Regions from separate parts of the Homo sapiens genome. Here regions 1 and 2 are each linked to region 3. Evidence: promoter capture Hi-C in human tissues and cell types (Jung and others, 2019). All regions are on one chromosome and are shown on one strand. The core of a region is centred on a gene start or on the middle of the fragment in contact, and the rest is flanking DNA. Distances in the headings are between cores, read along the strand shown.

Region 1 (2,700 bases), core at 146-2,645, 180 kb after region 3:
CTTTTATAAGACCATTTTAACTGTTTCTGCTAGGTAATGATCATTTAATCAAGGGCATAAAAAGATAAATAAATTGTGGGTACTGCCTTCAAGGAGGCTTTCTTAAATATTTATTTTTTAATTGACAAATAATAAGTGTACATATGCATGGGGCACATAGCGATGTTTTGATACATCAGGGTAATCAGCATATCCATCATCTCAGATATTTATCATTTCTTTGTGTTGGGAACATTCAATATCCTCTTTCTAGCTATTTGAAACTCTATTATTGTTAACTATTGTCATTCTACAGTGGTATAGAACGCTAGAACTTATTCCTCCTATCTAGTTGTAATTTTATGTCCTTTAACAAAACTTTCTGTATGCCCTCCACCTCCCCCTACCCTTCCCAGCCTCTAGTATCCTCTGTTCTACTTTTTACTCCTATGAGATCAACTTTTTTAAGCTTCCACGTATGAATGAGAACATGTGGTGTTTAACTCTCTGTTTTTGGCTTATTTCCGTTAACATAACGTCCTCCAGTTCCAACATCCATGTTGCCATGAATGGCAGGATTTCACTGTTTTTTAATGGCTAAATAGTATTCCATGGTGTGTATATGCTACATTTTCTCTATCTATTCATCTGTTGTTGGACATCTAACTTGATTCCATATCTTGATTATTGCGAATAGTGCTGCAGTAAACATGGGAGTGCGGAGGTCTCTACAAGGAGGCTTTTAAAGGCAGAACTTGCCGCCTTTCTTCCCATTCGCTTGGGTGTCATTCCGTGACAGGTTTGGAATCTTGATAAACTAAATAGAGCCATGGCTGAAATTCTCCTTGTTTCACTAGCCCTCCTGCTTCCTTCCCTGCAGACCACCATTCCTAATGGGATGGTTCCCCAGGCTTCAAGCTCTTCCCAGTTCTCTTTAAGCCCGGTCAGCTGCTTTCTGCTGAAGAGTGGAAGGATACATTCAACATGTTTTTAAATTTTCTGTATCCTGATGCTTTGACACCTGGGGCTGTGCTGATGACCCTGGAGGGACTGCCACTCCCAGGGTTAGCCAATTCCGAGAAACAGTAAATGACTCACGTGGGAGGGCGCACCTTTCCTATGCAAACCAACCGATCCAGTATCCATACCCCCAATCACTTCCTTTATTGGGCCGTCTCTCGGGGCCACCATCCACCTACTCTAATCACCCCAGGGCCAGTAACAGACAACTAGGGACAGTCCCTGTGCCCCAAAGTTCACTGAACTTATTCAAAGGAGCCAATCCTGAGCCTGTTTACCCTGTCTTGCATTACCATTCCTGCAGAAATCACAATAAAGGCTCTTGTCTGCATTTTCCCCTTGCTCCCTCGGGCCCCTGACCAGCCCTGATGCTTCCCCATATGCCCCCACTGCATGACAAGCTGTGCCTCCTGTTTTATACCCATGGGGAACTCTCTAGAATTTCATAGGGAGCTTTTAACAGCCATACCCTAGACCAATTAAATCAGAACCTCTAGGAATGTGACCCAAACTTTAAGTATTTTTTTTAATTCCCCAGGTGATTCGAAAGTGTAGCCAACTTTGAGAATGGGTGCTTTAAAACATCCCCATCGACGTTTTCATAGTACACATTTCTAAGTTAAAAAATCTTTCCCATAGTAATCTCCAATGTCTTCCTTCAAATACTAAAAAATGTGGAGGGTACTTTAACTTAGAATCTTACCCTCTCCCCTATCTGCTGCCACTTATATCTACATTTATGCCTCAATTGCATAATTATCCATGAGGGAGATCAGATTTTGCCAATAAAAAAGATTTTACCCAAGACAGTGAGGAACTTTTGGTGAAGAAGGGGTTAAGATGATAGCCAGCCCAGTTGCATGCTGGGAATTGTAGTACAATAGTAGCGCCCAGCCAGTGAGGTGCTACCAGCTCCGAAGCAGCTCACGGTATCCCTCATTCCACACAGCCCATCAGAGAGGCAGTGTCCAGCAGTGGCTAATGCTGTGGACATCAGAGCCAGGACACCTAATTTCGATACCAGCACCACCTTTCACTAGCTACAGGACCCTGGGCACACGACTTAACCTCCTGACCCTCTGTTTCCTTTTCTGCTAATATAGGGGAAATAATAGTAATATCTATCTAGCCCATGGGATTGTTATGAGGATTAAGTGAGTTAATATGGGTAAAGTGCTTTAGAATGGCAGCTGGCACATAATACGCATTTTATAAGAGTCAGCTTTCATTATTATTACTTCTCAACCCCTTTCTTGGCCCAAGTTCTATTCTCATGGACTATAAAAGGTGAAAATCCCCTGATTCCACAGTTAGAACATGCGAGTTTAGCTGTCCTTGGAGAAAGTATTCATATCTATTTGTCTAAATTGTCTTCTGGTCATTTCTCTTTAAAACCATAAGGTTGAGTTAGGGGCAAGGGCCAATGATATTAGCTATCAGAGCCCAGCACTCCTACCCAAATGAGCATCGCTGGATTTCACCTGCCCAGCCTGTTCTCTCTGCTCTGACAGCAGTACCCAACTTGCTTTTGTGGAACCACCTCTCTCCCACCATGTGCACTCTTGGTGAGATTGCCAGTCAAGGTGCCCCACTTTCCCAGGGCAATGGGCAGGGGTGCCTGACCCAAGATCAGTCCACCATACTCATCTTTTGGGGAGGAACATAAGGATAAGAACAGGTTGGACTGAATTTGCCAGAGGG
Region 2 (2,875 bases), core at 259-2,758, 160 kb before region 3:
TTTCCAGGACACGGTTTTGTCTGCCATTATGTTTTAAGTGTTCCTAAAGTGGCAGGTGAAGGAGATCCTCTTGGTGACACTGACTTGGGACTTCTTGTGACTTGGAAAAATTCTTTAGGAAAATGTGTTCACAGTACATCGGGGCTGTTGCTCAGGTTGCCTTCGAAGAGACCAAGAGAATGGCAGAGATCACAGGGACAATGAGAGGAGATGGCACCGTTGGACCCAGCCAGGGATTGCTGAGTTCTCATTAGTGTTAGGATGGAAAAAGGAAGAAACATCACGGAACACTGCAGTCTTGCAATGACAAGCTTCAACTCCATCCCTCCCACTGCAGATCTTCTCTCTAGAGATCTGCTCGTGATCTATTTGTACTGTTTCCTGCTTGAGCCTCCTAATTCACAACTGCTCTTTCCACCCTAATGGCAGAAGAGAAACTCTCCTCATTTTCTTGCCAAGCACCAAGGTGATCATCTTGCTCTTCCTTCCTCCTCCTGGTTTGTCACTTTAACACACACGTGTCCCCTCCTTTATCCCTCTACCTTCCCTCTGCACTCAGGAAAAGGTTTACCCTGCTCAGCAGAGTGAAAATCTCAACCCTCTGCCATGCATTAGATCCTGCTACCTCCTGAATATTTGCAGATCCTACTACCTCCTGATTATTTTCAGGCTCCCCAAATGTCTCCTCTCTCTTGTGTACCTCTGGGGGTTCCGTCTCTATTGCAGCTTTTCCTCTGCCTTCAAGTAGACACAGATCTTTCTCTCCCTACAAAACCAAAAACCAAAAATCAACTCTGCCTACTACCTCTCCTCTTTCTTTTATTCACGAGCTCTTTGAAACTCGCTGACAAACTTTAGCTTTTCTTTTCTTAATACACAAAGAGTTAGAACTTCTGGTAATCTGTACAATATAATCTAAGAGAGCCTAGAAGACAAGCCACCCTGTCTAGAACCCTGCTTTTGGATTCTGAAACTCCTTCTCTACGATGCAAGATTATGAAAGAGATTTAATTTCCAAGGACAGTCACCTGTCAGTCATTCACATCCTGGTATGAATGAGTTTCATCAGATTACTATGTAGCATAGCTCTTGAAATCTTGGGCTCTGAAGCCACGTGGCCTAGGCTCAATCCACTCCCCACCCTCCACTTTCGAGCTATGTGAGTCTGAGTAAGTTTCTTAATTTCTCTAAGCTTCAGTTTCTTCATTTGTAAAGAGGGGAAAATAATAGTATTTACCACAGGGTTACTGTAAAGGTGTAATTATCTATAGGCGAAGCCTTTAGCACAGTATCTGGCATACAGAAGCACCCAATAAATTAACTGTTTATTTTTTAGTTTTGCTGTGTAATCAGTTTTGGTTGGTGTCTTCACCTGCTTGGGCTGCTATAACAAAATACCACAACCTGGGTGGCTTTTAGAAAACAGAAATTTATTTCTCACAGTTCTGGAGGTGGGGAAGTCCAAGATCAAGGCACCGGCGGATTCAGTGTCTGGTGAGGGCCCACTTCTTGGTTTGCAGTTGGAGCCTTCTCTGCCTCCCATGATGGAAGAAGCAAAGGAGCTCCCTTGAGCCCATTTTGATCACGGCACTAATCCCATGCATGAGGGCTCTGGCCCCGTGACCTAATCACCTCCCTAAAGGCCTCACTGCCTAATATCATCACGTTCAGGGTTAGGATTTCAATGTGTGAATTGTGGAGGGACACAACCATTCAGACCACTGCAATTGGAAGGGGCTTCTTCTGGAGCACAGGACACTTCCTGGAACCAGCTATGGGGGGTGTGGGGATGGGGCACTGGAGCAGTCCATGGGCAGCACAGCAGGCAGGGGTCCCAAAGTGAGGAAGAGGCAGCCACAAGGGAAAAGGGGGCCTCCACATGCACTGCTTTGCAATTTAGCCCAGGGTGGGCCCTGCTCCTCATCATCCATTCATTCATGCTTCGCCCATCCTAGCCTGGCTTCTGTTCTTCAAAAGTCAATCACCTCTCTTTGCCAAGCTCCGTGCCCTTTTCTGTATCTCCATATTGGATCTTCCACAGCCTTGGACACCAGTGCTCATATACATATTTTTAGATCATTGCAGCTCTCCTCCCCCGATCTGCTTTTTCAGGTTCTTCTGTGGGCCCCTGTTTTTGTCTCCTACTCACTGAGTGTGACTCCCTACTCTGTCCTCTGATCCTTTGACTCAACACTCTGTAGATCCTCACTTCACACTTCCTTCAAGTAGCCATGGACCCACAGAATGTTGTCCTAGAAGGGACCTTAGAGATCCTTGATCCAACCTACCCTTCACCCCATTTTACAGACAGAAAAACTGAGGTCCAGAAAGCTAAGGCAACTTGCCTGTGGTTAAGTTATTAGAAGCTGAGCTAAAACCAGGACCAAGTTTTCACACTGCCTCTCTGGTATAAAACTGGGTTTAAAACCAGGCTGTAGGTGAAGGACATGTTATGCTCCTAGTACCTCAACATCTTTTTCAGGCTACTGGGAAAACCTCATGGAAGTCAAAGATAAGGAATCTTTGTCCTCTGCAAGATGATCTGGACCTCCTCTTGCCTATTCTTGAAGAGACTTCAAAAGAAGGGCTTACCTGCTGTCTCTCTTAGGGCACCTGGATCCAAGCTCTTGGAATCTTCTTCATCCTACTCTCTACCAGGTAAGTTCCTCTCCTTCTTAAGTTTCAGATGAAACTTACTGTCTTCCAACATGCCCTCCCCACCTCTTCCAGATGGAGTTAGTCCCGCTCTCTCCTACCCGCCACACATTGTTCTTTCTAGTCCTCACCACATAGTCTTGCACCTGCTTGTCAACCCATAGGCTTCCCCTACTCCCAGGCATTTCAGAAGCAAGGAGCTTGCCTTTGCTTCTTTGTT
Region 3 (2,700 bases), core at 16-2,515:
GAGCTCCCGACCTCAAGTGATCCACCCGCCTTGGCCTCCCAAAGTGCTGAGATTACAAGCATGAGCCACTGTGCCCAGTCAGTGCTTAGATTTCTTAAGACCCAACCTTAAGAAAGACAATTAGAAGACAGAGTGGGCAACTGGGAGAGGCCTGGTAATATGGCAGAGGGAAGAGGGGGTGAAGGTGTGGGTGGCAGGAGGGTGGCTGGTTGGGGAAGTGGCCACTGGATCTTAGGCCACAGGCATACTTTTCCATCTCCAGCTTCCTCATTTACAGAAAACGAGACTGCAGTGGTGTGATGGAAATGTGTGGGACGGGGACAGGTGACTGGCTTTCATTACTAACCAGAGGACAGCTTAGACAAGTCACTCTGGCTGGGCCTCAGTTTCCTTATCTCTAACGGGACTGGATTGCCCAGTGCTCCTCAAACTGTGGCACCTGGGGCACATTCATAGCTTGTGTGTGAATCTGCCAGCCTTGAAATATCTGTCTTCCTTGGATGGCAAGTTTATTAAAAATTTTGGAAGGACTCACTCTTTTTATAAGAAAGCATTTATGTCATTGTTCAGAATGCAAAATGTATATGCATTTTAGTTACAATAACTAATATTTGATAACATTTAACGAGTAATTACTGTGTGCCAAGTGTGCAAAACTCTAGGTGAGCCTCACAATAACCTAATGGGGTATTATTATTCCCATTTTATAGATTAAAAATCTGGGGTAGAGGGAGTAGATAATCCACCTAAAGACCTGTTATTAAGTAGTGATAAAAGATCTCCACTCCCTCTCTCCCCCACAAAAAATATGGACTCATTACAAGTTGTTTTAGGATCTACCTCCAGACCCATGGAGTTTCTTTAGTAAAGCCTGAACGACACAGGCCAAAATAATCTCCAAAGGCCAGCTCTGACCCTTTTAAATCAATTTTAGCTAAATCCGTTCACAAAAGGCTTCGCACATCCAGTGTCCCTGAAAAATAAAGGAGGTTGGGCAGGCCCTGCGGGGGCTCGAGGAATTCGCTAAGTGAGTTTTCTGGCTTCTGGATACACTTTCAAAGGGCCAGAGGGCACGAGGCTTCCGCCTTGGCCGCCACCTCCCCGGCCAGCTGCGGTGTTCGCGGCCAGTGTTGCCGGGCACTTCCTGGTTCCCGCGCGCCCCGGGTGCAGCTCCCTGCACCCAGTGCTGGCGCTCCTCAGAAGGGAGGGGGCCAGAGGCGAGATGTCGCAACCGCCTCCCTCCCTCTTTCCCCGCCTTGGCACTCAGTCGCCTCCCAGATGAGCACTCTCTCAGACCGCTGCGGGCCGCCAGGCGCCGGGAATGTCCCCTGAATGCGCGCGGGCAGCGGGCGACGCGCCCTTGCGCAGCCTGGAGCAAGCCAACCGCACCCGCTTTCCCTTCTTCTCCGACGTCAAGGGCGACCACCGGCTGGTGCTGGCCGCGGTGGAGACAACCGTGCTGGTGCTCATCTTTGCAGTGTCGCTGCTGGGCAACGTGTGCGCCCTGGTGCTGGTGGCGCGCCGACGACGCCGCGGCGCGACTGCCTGCCTGGTACTCAACCTCTTCTGCGCGGACCTGCTCTTCATCAGCGCTATCCCTCTGGTGCTGGCCGTGCGCTGGACTGAGGCCTGGCTGCTGGGCCCCGTTGCCTGCCACCTGCTCTTCTACGTGATGACCCTGAGCGGCAGCGTCACCATCCTCACGCTGGCCGCGGTCAGCCTGGAGCGCATGGTGTGCATCGTGCACCTGCAGCGCGGCGTGCGGGGTCCTGGGCGGCGGGCGCGGGCAGTGCTGCTGGCGCTCATCTGGGGCTATTCGGCGGTCGCCGCTCTGCCTCTCTGCGTCTTCTTCCGAGTCGTCCCGCAACGGCTCCCCGGCGCCGACCAGGTGAGCGCCCCTCTGTGTGTGCCGGGCAGGTGTCCTGCGCAGGCTGGGAAGCGGGGCCCCGACGGAAGCTGGGATGAGGATGATCAAGAACAACAATAGCCATTTATTGCACTTAATCGTTGTGCCAAATCTTGTGCCCATGGCTGTGAAGTTTAATCTCTTAAATCTCACTACAACGCTGTGCACACGCCCTCCTAAATGATGTAAGTGGAGTCCCCCAAATTCTTGCAAAATGCAATGACTGTTGCGAGGTTAATTAACGAGTAGTTTAGGAGCGAGACGGAACTTTGGGGGTGCAGGGTGGCCAAACACTTTGTATTGAATCATGATTCCTCGCCAGGTGCTACAATACTGTTATTATCACACCCATTTCACAGATGAGAACCAGAGGCACACCGAAGTGTATAATAACTTGCCCAGAGTATTTTATCCGTAATTCGAGGAGGAGATGGGCTCCTTCCAGAAGTTTACCCGTAATTCAAGGAGGAGTTGGGCTCCTGTCCAGGGTTGGGTTATGGTCCTGCTTTGAAAGCGCGCGGACAGGCATGTGAGACCCGGGGACCCCAGATGCAATGCTGTCTTTAGGGGACTTGTGACAGAATTCCCTTCCGGGGTCTTCAGTTTTTTCAGCTGCAAAACGGAAGGATTACACTAGACCTTCGAGGTGTCCTGGGCGCCTGAAATGTGCAGATTACAGAGGCTGGACCGACGAGCTCTGTTTTACATAGCGGGTCAATAGTTGTCATTATTAGCTCATAGGGGTGGGAGTGACCATGATCGGAATAAGGTTCTGCGGATAGTGCAGGACATTG

Evidence for each region. Contacts are between HindIII fragments. The study calls those that stand out against the background at their distance.
Region 1: a fragment that was not itself captured here is called in contact with the fragment with the promoter of FFAR4 in region 3 in 3 of the 25 tissues and cell types used here (H1 embryonic stem cells, IMR-90 fibroblasts and spleen).
Region 2: a contact is called between a fragment that was not itself captured here and the fragment with the promoter of FFAR4 in region 3, in 2 of the 25 tissues and cell types used here (heart right ventricle and pancreas).

Annotation. Positions count from the first base shown.
Region 1 is chr10:93,750,159-93,752,858 of GRCh38, forward strand. All of the region lies in intron 1 of LOC101927013 (a long non-coding RNA gene), which reads right to left. Among named protein-coding and RNA genes, the nearest start is that of LGI1, 6.4 kb to the right of the region's middle. The HindIII fragment of the contact is 5,661 bases long and covers 1-2,700 here.
Region 2 is chr10:93,409,805-93,412,679 of GRCh38, forward strand. All of the region lies in intron 5 of MYOF (myoferlin), which reads right to left. Among named protein-coding and RNA genes, the nearest start is that of MYOF, 71 kb to the right of the region's middle. The HindIII fragment of the contact is 3,899 bases long and covers 1-2,875 here.
Region 3 is chr10:93,565,400-93,568,099 of GRCh38, forward strand. It overlaps FFAR4 (free fatty acid receptor 4), which reads left to right and starts at 1,266. Exons shown (of 3, transcript NM_001195755.2): 1 at 1,266-1,888. The coding sequence starts at 1,322. RefSeq lists an enhancer at 668-1,506. The HindIII fragment of the contact is 11,697 bases long and covers 1-2,700 here.